Regions from separate parts of the Homo sapiens genome. Here region 2 is linked to region 1. Evidence: promoter capture Hi-C in human tissues and cell types (Jung and others, 2019). All regions are on one chromosome and are shown on one strand. Each heading gives the region's core, a stretch centred on a gene start or on the middle of the fragment in contact. The rest is flanking DNA. Distances are from core to core; before and after follow the strand shown.

The links. The method cuts DNA at HindIII sites, captures the fragments that hold promoters and counts their contacts. A contact is called where the count stands out against the background at its distance.
Region 2: a fragment that was not itself captured here is called in contact with the fragment with the promoter of HOXA13 in region 1 in 1 of the 25 tissues and cell types used here (mesendoderm cells).

The regions. Positions count from the first base shown.
Region 1 is chr7:27,198,622-27,201,928 of GRCh38, forward strand. It overlaps HOXA13 (homeobox A13), which reads right to left and starts at 1,470. Exons shown (of 2, transcript NM_000522.5): 1 at 535-1,470. The coding sequence starts at 1,456. HOTTIP (HOXA distal transcript antisense RNA) reads left to right here and starts at 1,800. Exons shown (of 3, transcript NR_037843.3): 1 at 1,800-1,900; 2 at 2,002-3,307. The HindIII fragment of the contact is 6,019 bases long and covers 1-2,123 here.
Region 2 is chr7:27,650,255-27,653,561 of GRCh38, forward strand. All of the region lies in intron 1 of HIBADH (3-hydroxyisobutyrate dehydrogenase), which reads right to left. LOC105375211 (a long non-coding RNA gene) reads left to right here. Exons shown (of 3, transcript XR_007060268.1): 2 at 2,346-2,396. Among named protein-coding and RNA genes, the nearest start is that of HIBADH, 11 kb to the right of the region's middle. The HindIII fragment of the contact is 6,446 bases long and covers 1-3,307 here.

The sequences.
Region 1 (3,307 bases), core at 220-2,719:
AAATGAAATCACCCAGGGCTCCAGTGACTTCCCCAACCCGGCCATCCTGCAGGAGCAGCGCGTAGGCAGCCTCGAGTGATAGCCTGGTCCAACGGCCCACACCTTAGCGCCAGGCTCAAGGTACAACACTTCTGTGCCTGCCTCCTTTCTGGGTGCCCGTCCCAATACTCGAAGCTTCTACACTGAAGCCATTTTTGAGAGAATGAATAGGGAGGGGCAATTTGGGGAGCTGTTTTCTGGTCAATTTCTCATCCTTAAATTGGTGTCAGGGGCTGGGGAGGGCGGGGCGCAGAGGGAGAGGGAAGCTAGCCGAGGTCTCCACAAGCCACCCCTCACCCAGGGAGAGCCAGGGACCAGCTCAACTCGAGGCAGTGCAGGCAGACCCAGCCAGCCATGCTCGGGCTCCCAGGGGTGCAGAGCCGCTAGGGCAGACCAGGAAGAGAACAGAAACGCACCCGGGATCGCCCGGGTGCGAGCGGAGAAGAAGCTGGAGCAGAGCCGGAAGACCAGGGCTGGGAATAGGTCGTCATTTACCGGGCAGAGTGGACTTCCAGAGGTGGGGAGGCTGCGCCTGCTCTTTGGGGCAGTACATTTGGCCGTTCCAGCCGTTGGGCAGCGCCCAGGGCTGGTAGCTTTCCATGGGAAGACCCAAGGGTTCGTGGCGCGACTCGCCGGGGCCCCCGAGGCCCGGCACCACTGGCATATCCAGGTAGCCAGGCATGGGCTGATGGTGGTGGTAAGGCCCGGCTGCGTAGCCCTGGTGGTAGAAGGCGAACTCCTTAGCGCGGGAGCTGAACTCCTCGGCAGCTGGGCCGGCGGTATCCATGTACTTGTCCGCGAAGGCGGCGGCGGCGGCGGCCGAGGCGGGCTGCGCGCACGACTTGATGGCGTTGGGGTGCGGGCCCATGCGGGCGCACGGGTAGTAGCCGCTGCCGAAGTAGCCATAGGGCAGCGCCGCGGGCCCCGACGAGCTCTGCGCCGCTGCCGAGCAGGGGCTGCATTGCTTGGCGGCCTCTGCGCCCGCCGGGCCCGCCGGGCCGGGACCTCCCGAGGACGACGCGGCGGCGGCGGCGGCGGCTGCAGCGGCAGCCGCGGCAGCAGCGGCGGCAGCCGACGGGGGCGCCTCCCCGGGGGCGCTGCTGTAGGCGGACGCGGCTCCTGGCGCCAAGGGCGCCGGGTGCGCCATCAGGTTGCGGCACTGGTTGGCCGCGGCCGCCGCCGCAGCCGCGGCCGCCGCCGCCACCGAGAAGTTGCCCCCTGCCGCCGCAGCCGCCGGGTGGGGGAAGCCCCCGCCCCCGGCCCCGGCAGCCGCCGCCGCTGCAGCCGCTGCTGCAGCCGCCGCCGCCCCTTCCATGTTCTTGTTGAGCTCGTCGGCCACCAGGCCGCCGCCGTTGTCGTAGAGAAACATGACGGTGGGCTCGATCCAGCGGGGGTGGAGGAGCACGGAGGCTGTCATAGCCCGAGCCGCATGGAGAAGACCCCAGTGGCGCTGTTTTAAAAAGCCCCCAAGAAGTGAAGAGCGCGCGGCGCGGGGCCGGGGCCCGAGCGAGGGGGGCGGATCGCGCCCCGCGGGGTCGCGCCAGGCGGCCGCCCATTGGCCCGGCCCCCCCGCTCCGCCCACGGCGTATGCAAAGCGGGCGGCTCCGACTCCAGCTCTGCACGGTGCACCCGTCGTCCCCGCCGCGGCCCGCGCCGTCCCCAGCGCCAGCCGCGCGGCCGCGCACCATTCACCCGGGGGAGAGGCGGAGGAACGTGCGGGTGGGGCAGGGAAGGAAGGCGGCCCCATCTCCGCCCCCCTTCCCTTCCTTTATCCCAGTGGGGCCCAGACCCGCGCAACCAGGCGGGGAGGGGAGGTGGGCGCGCGATTGGGTTGCGATCTGGAGCAGTGGGGACAGGTCAGGTAATTCTGCCGGCGGTCAGGGATGGGAGAGTGGGGAGGACGGGACCAGCCTAGCTCAGAATGGGTGTTTCTTGGAGCCTCTGGGACTGTTTTCTTTCCAGGAACCGGCGCGTATTTCTGCAGTGAGACCACAGGACGGACATCGGCGCCTTCGGCTTCGATGGAGTTGCGATTTTGCTCTTTCCAGGGAAACAGTGGCAGGGTGTTTGCTGCTTATCGGTTCCTGCGGATATGCCTGGGTCCCAGGACATTCCACTGGAGGCTTGGACTGCATTTAGGAGCCCCTATCCCTTCCCTGTCCACACTGTTAGTGAGCAATTTCATATGTTTGCATTTAGACCCATAGACTCAGAACGACTCATCACACACACACACAGTGTACACTGACACACTCACATTCGCACACTTAGGTATACAGCCTGATCCTTGCTCTGACCTGGTAACAACGCTTCCTCCTCCAGAGACTTTGAGATAGAGCGAGCGATCCCTGTGCACCATTCATCCATGCTCCCACCTCGCCAGTATGGCTGGCTTAGTTCTGGAAGGGGCTTAAGAGGAACAAGCCCCAGCTGTGCTTCTGGCTGGGACTTAAACCCCCCTTCTGGGCCCTAAAGCCACGCTTCTTTGTGGACCGGACCTGACTCTCCAGGAATCTGGGAACCCGCTATTTCACTCTATTTTGGGACAAGAAAAAGGGGCTCTTTGGGGCCACTTCCTGCCTTCCCCTCAAGTAGGATCTCCAGCCTGCAGAGGGTGCCTAGTCCTTCTTTGCCCAAGAACCAGTCCAAGAAGCCTTTCCTCTGTGCCTGGGAAATGCAACCTTTTCTTGGGAGCATGGTAGGGTGTTGGTGCTGAAGAACCAAGCAGCGACCCGTCTTGTAGCTGCCATGTTTTGTCGAGGGGTTCTGGGGGTCCTGCTGCTTTAGAGCCACATACTTCCACTTCCTGATTCACTACTGTGAGCTGGTCAGATGCCTAGAAGAGGAACAAGCGTTCAAAGTGAAAGTGGGCACATTACCGGAATAGTGCTGGGGAGAGTGCTGGATTCTTTTCCACCCCAGGCGGACTGGTGAGAAGCCAGGCTTGGACCTGTCCTCTGCTCCTAGCTTGCACACTCAGCCCTAAACTCAGAGCAGCACGCATACCACCCCTCACACACACCCCACCATCTGCTGTCTAAGGCCCCTGGGCTTCCTGCAGGATCCAGACCAATGTGGCTGGGCTTGGGCTTTTATCTGTCCTGATCCTGGATTTGTCCTGACCAATGTAAGTGTCGCCCAATAAAACCTTCTATGACCCCCACACCAGCCACCCCCCCACCAAGTGTGCCCTTTCCTTCTTGACTTTTTAGCAGTTCTGGGTAAATATTGATTTGCCCCCAGTTTACCTTCTCCCTGACTGGCCATT
Region 2 (3,307 bases), core at 216-2,715, 450 kb after region 1:
CAGAAACCATCCCCTCCAATGATACAAAAAAAAAAAAACTCAAAAAGATGTTAAACCCAGGAGAATGGAATCACCAGTTTATAAAGGTGGTCCTGGGGTAGAAAGGGGAGATACCTCCATAGGCTTTAAATGGCAAGTGTAACAGTATCAGGACCTTGGTCTAACAACTCTGAACTTTCAGAAAAGAGAGACTTCCTTATTATATTTTTATTTATTTATTTATTTATTTATTTATTTATTTATTTATTTATTTTTTGAGACGGAGTCTCACTCTGTCACCCAGATTGGAGGGCAGTAATGCAATCTCGGCTCACTGAAGCCTCTGCCTATTGGGTTCAAGCAATTCTCATGCCTTAGCCTCCGGTGTAGCTGGGATCACAGACACGCACCACCATGCCTGGCTAATTTTTGTCCTTTTAATAGAGACAGAGTTTCACCATGTTGACCAGGCTGCCATTAAAAAAAAAAAAAAAAAAGCCTTAAAAACTACACAGGTTTTATTTATTCTTTTATTTTTCATATAAGACTTTTTGAAATTACTCCGTGGGCATATGAATCAAAGTAATGCGTTACAGAGTGGGGAGGCTTTACAGTACTATGGAAATAGCGTTAGATGCAATTTTTCACTTTCTAGATTTAGAACTCCACTCAATAAATATTCACTGCATGAAGTACTATGACAGAGCTCAGAGACAGACACAAGCAACGTATGGTCCCTGTCCTTTAAAAGCTCACAGTCTAGTGAGGGAAAAGAGAGAAGTAACTCTCCTTGCTCTTCCATTTCCCAGCATTCTTTTTCTTTTTTCTTTCAAGAACTCCAGCTTTAAAATTTGTAGTGCAACAACTAATCACAGTCCCTCTTTTAAGTTTCAGGTCCCCTCAACTGAACTTAATCTGCTCTTCCCTGAACTGAATCTGAATGGAATGAGATTTGTTAAAAGCAAATTATTTGAAGCCCTAATGCTTAAGAACTAGAGGTCTTCTTGGGTTGGAAGCATATTTAATTCCTTTAACTTAATGACTGACTCTAACACTTCCATTAAATGTGGGTGTCATTTCTGTGCAACATCATTTAACAGGCGCTAAGTTTAATACACTGGTATAATAGTACACTGGTATAATAGTACACTGGTATAGTTTGTCTTTCTGGCCTGCAAGGAATTCAATGACAGAAAAGTGACACCAAACTGAAATTTTATTTTGATATTAAACAGAATGAGTACACTTCATCAGAGAACTCTAACTAATGCTCATAAACAAACTAGCAATAATAGCCAGAAAGAAAATGTGGCATTACTGTGTTAAGGTTGAAAAGGTGTAATTTAGCAATCTAAAAACTTCAGCAACTAGGAAGATTATAATTTAAAGACAGTTAATTTAACAGGCAATTCACTCTAGGTCAAACAATTCATAAGTATGGTCACGTAGAACCACAATTCATTCACAAATTCAACAAACACTAAGCAACTATCACATGTACCAAAAGAGATGCCAAAGAAGGTAAGAGACACAGTCCTTGCCTTCAACAAGCTTAAAACCAAGAAGAAATAAACCATGTACATAAACACTAACATAAGACAGTTAAAGATAAAAACACAATGCTGATGAAAAATGAGAATTCATGGTGTGGGAACTTGAGGAATGTGGCATCTGACCTGGATATTATACAAGGGGTAGGATTTCAAATGGATAGGAGGGTAAGGAGGAGGGGAACTCCATACAGAAAAAGGAACATGAATATATACAAGGAACTAGAAGAGCCATGAAGAAATGACAGTAATAGTTAATATTTACTGCAATTTTACTACATGCCAGACACTATGCTAAGCACTTTATAAACAGACCTATTACCATATGCTATATATGAAGCCCATCTTACAGCTGAGAACCCTGATGCTGAGTTGAAGTAAAATACCTAATACTTTACTAAGTTGTAATGCCAAGATTCAAATCCAGACATTCTAATTCTAGAGTCTCCACTTGTAAACATTGTATGATACTGCCCTCTATTCTTCCTAAAGAATGCACAAAGAAACAAAACAGCAAGAGATTAAGATTAAAAAAAAAATGCAACCATAATGTGGAAGGATAGAAGGATGCTAAACAACTTGTATTTTGTAGGCAAGAGGTAGTTATTGAAACAGTGGGCAAGAGAAATGACAGATGAGACTTACACTTTAGGAACAGAAATGAGGCAGCAGTGTACAATGAATGAACTTGAAGAAAAGAGCCTGGAGGCAAGAAGACCAATATAAAAGTGACAGTAATCCTCTAGATGCCTTAGTTTGAGCTACTATAACAAATATACCATAATGGCTTAAATAACGAACACTTATTTCTCACAGTTCTGGAGGCCAGGAAGTCCAACATGAAGGTGACAGCAGATCCAGTGTCTGGTAGGTCCACTTCCTCGTTTGCTGATGGCCATTTTCTCACTGTATCCTCACATGGTAGAGAGCAGAAAGAGAAGCCACTCTCATGTCTCTCTGTACAACAGCACTAATCCTATTCACAGGAGCTCTATCCGCATGATCTAATTGCCTCCCAAAGGGCCTAGCTCCTAATATCATTATATTGAGGGTTAGGAATTTTGGCCAGGCGCAGCGGCTCACGCCTGTAATCCCAGCACTTTGGGAGGCCAAAGTGGGTGGATCACCTGAGGTCAGGAGTTTGAGACCAACCTGGCCAACATGGTGAAACCCAGTCTTTACTAAAAATACAAAAATTATCCAGGCATGGTGGCATGTGCTTGTAATCCCAGTTACTCAGGAGGGTGAGGCAGGAGGATTGCTTGAACATAGGGGGTGGAGGATGCAGCGAGCCAAGATCGCACCACTGCACTCCAGCCTGGGTGACAGAGCGAGACTCCGTCTCAAAAAAGAAAAAAAAAGGAATTCAACATATAAATTTTGTGGGGACATAAAATTTCAGTCCATAACAAAGTCAAAATTAATAAAGTGTGGTAGCCACAGGAAAAGACAGGTATAAAAACTATTTCAAAGACAGAAGTAAAAGGATAAAACAATGGATTGGATTATAGGCTAAAATAAGGGTGAGGTCCAAAATGACAGTAAGAGAATAGTGTTATCAATACCTAAGTGAAGAAATCAAGGAGAGCTGGCTCAGTTTTACCCAGGGTAACTATGAACTGTCAATGAGCTGAAAAGATGTCCAACAGACTATTAGAAATACCATGACCGGCCGGGCGTGGTGGCTCACGCCTGTAATGCCAGCACTTTGGGAGGCCGAGACGGGCGGATCACGAGGTCAGGAGATCGAGACCATCGTGGCTAACATGGTGAAACCC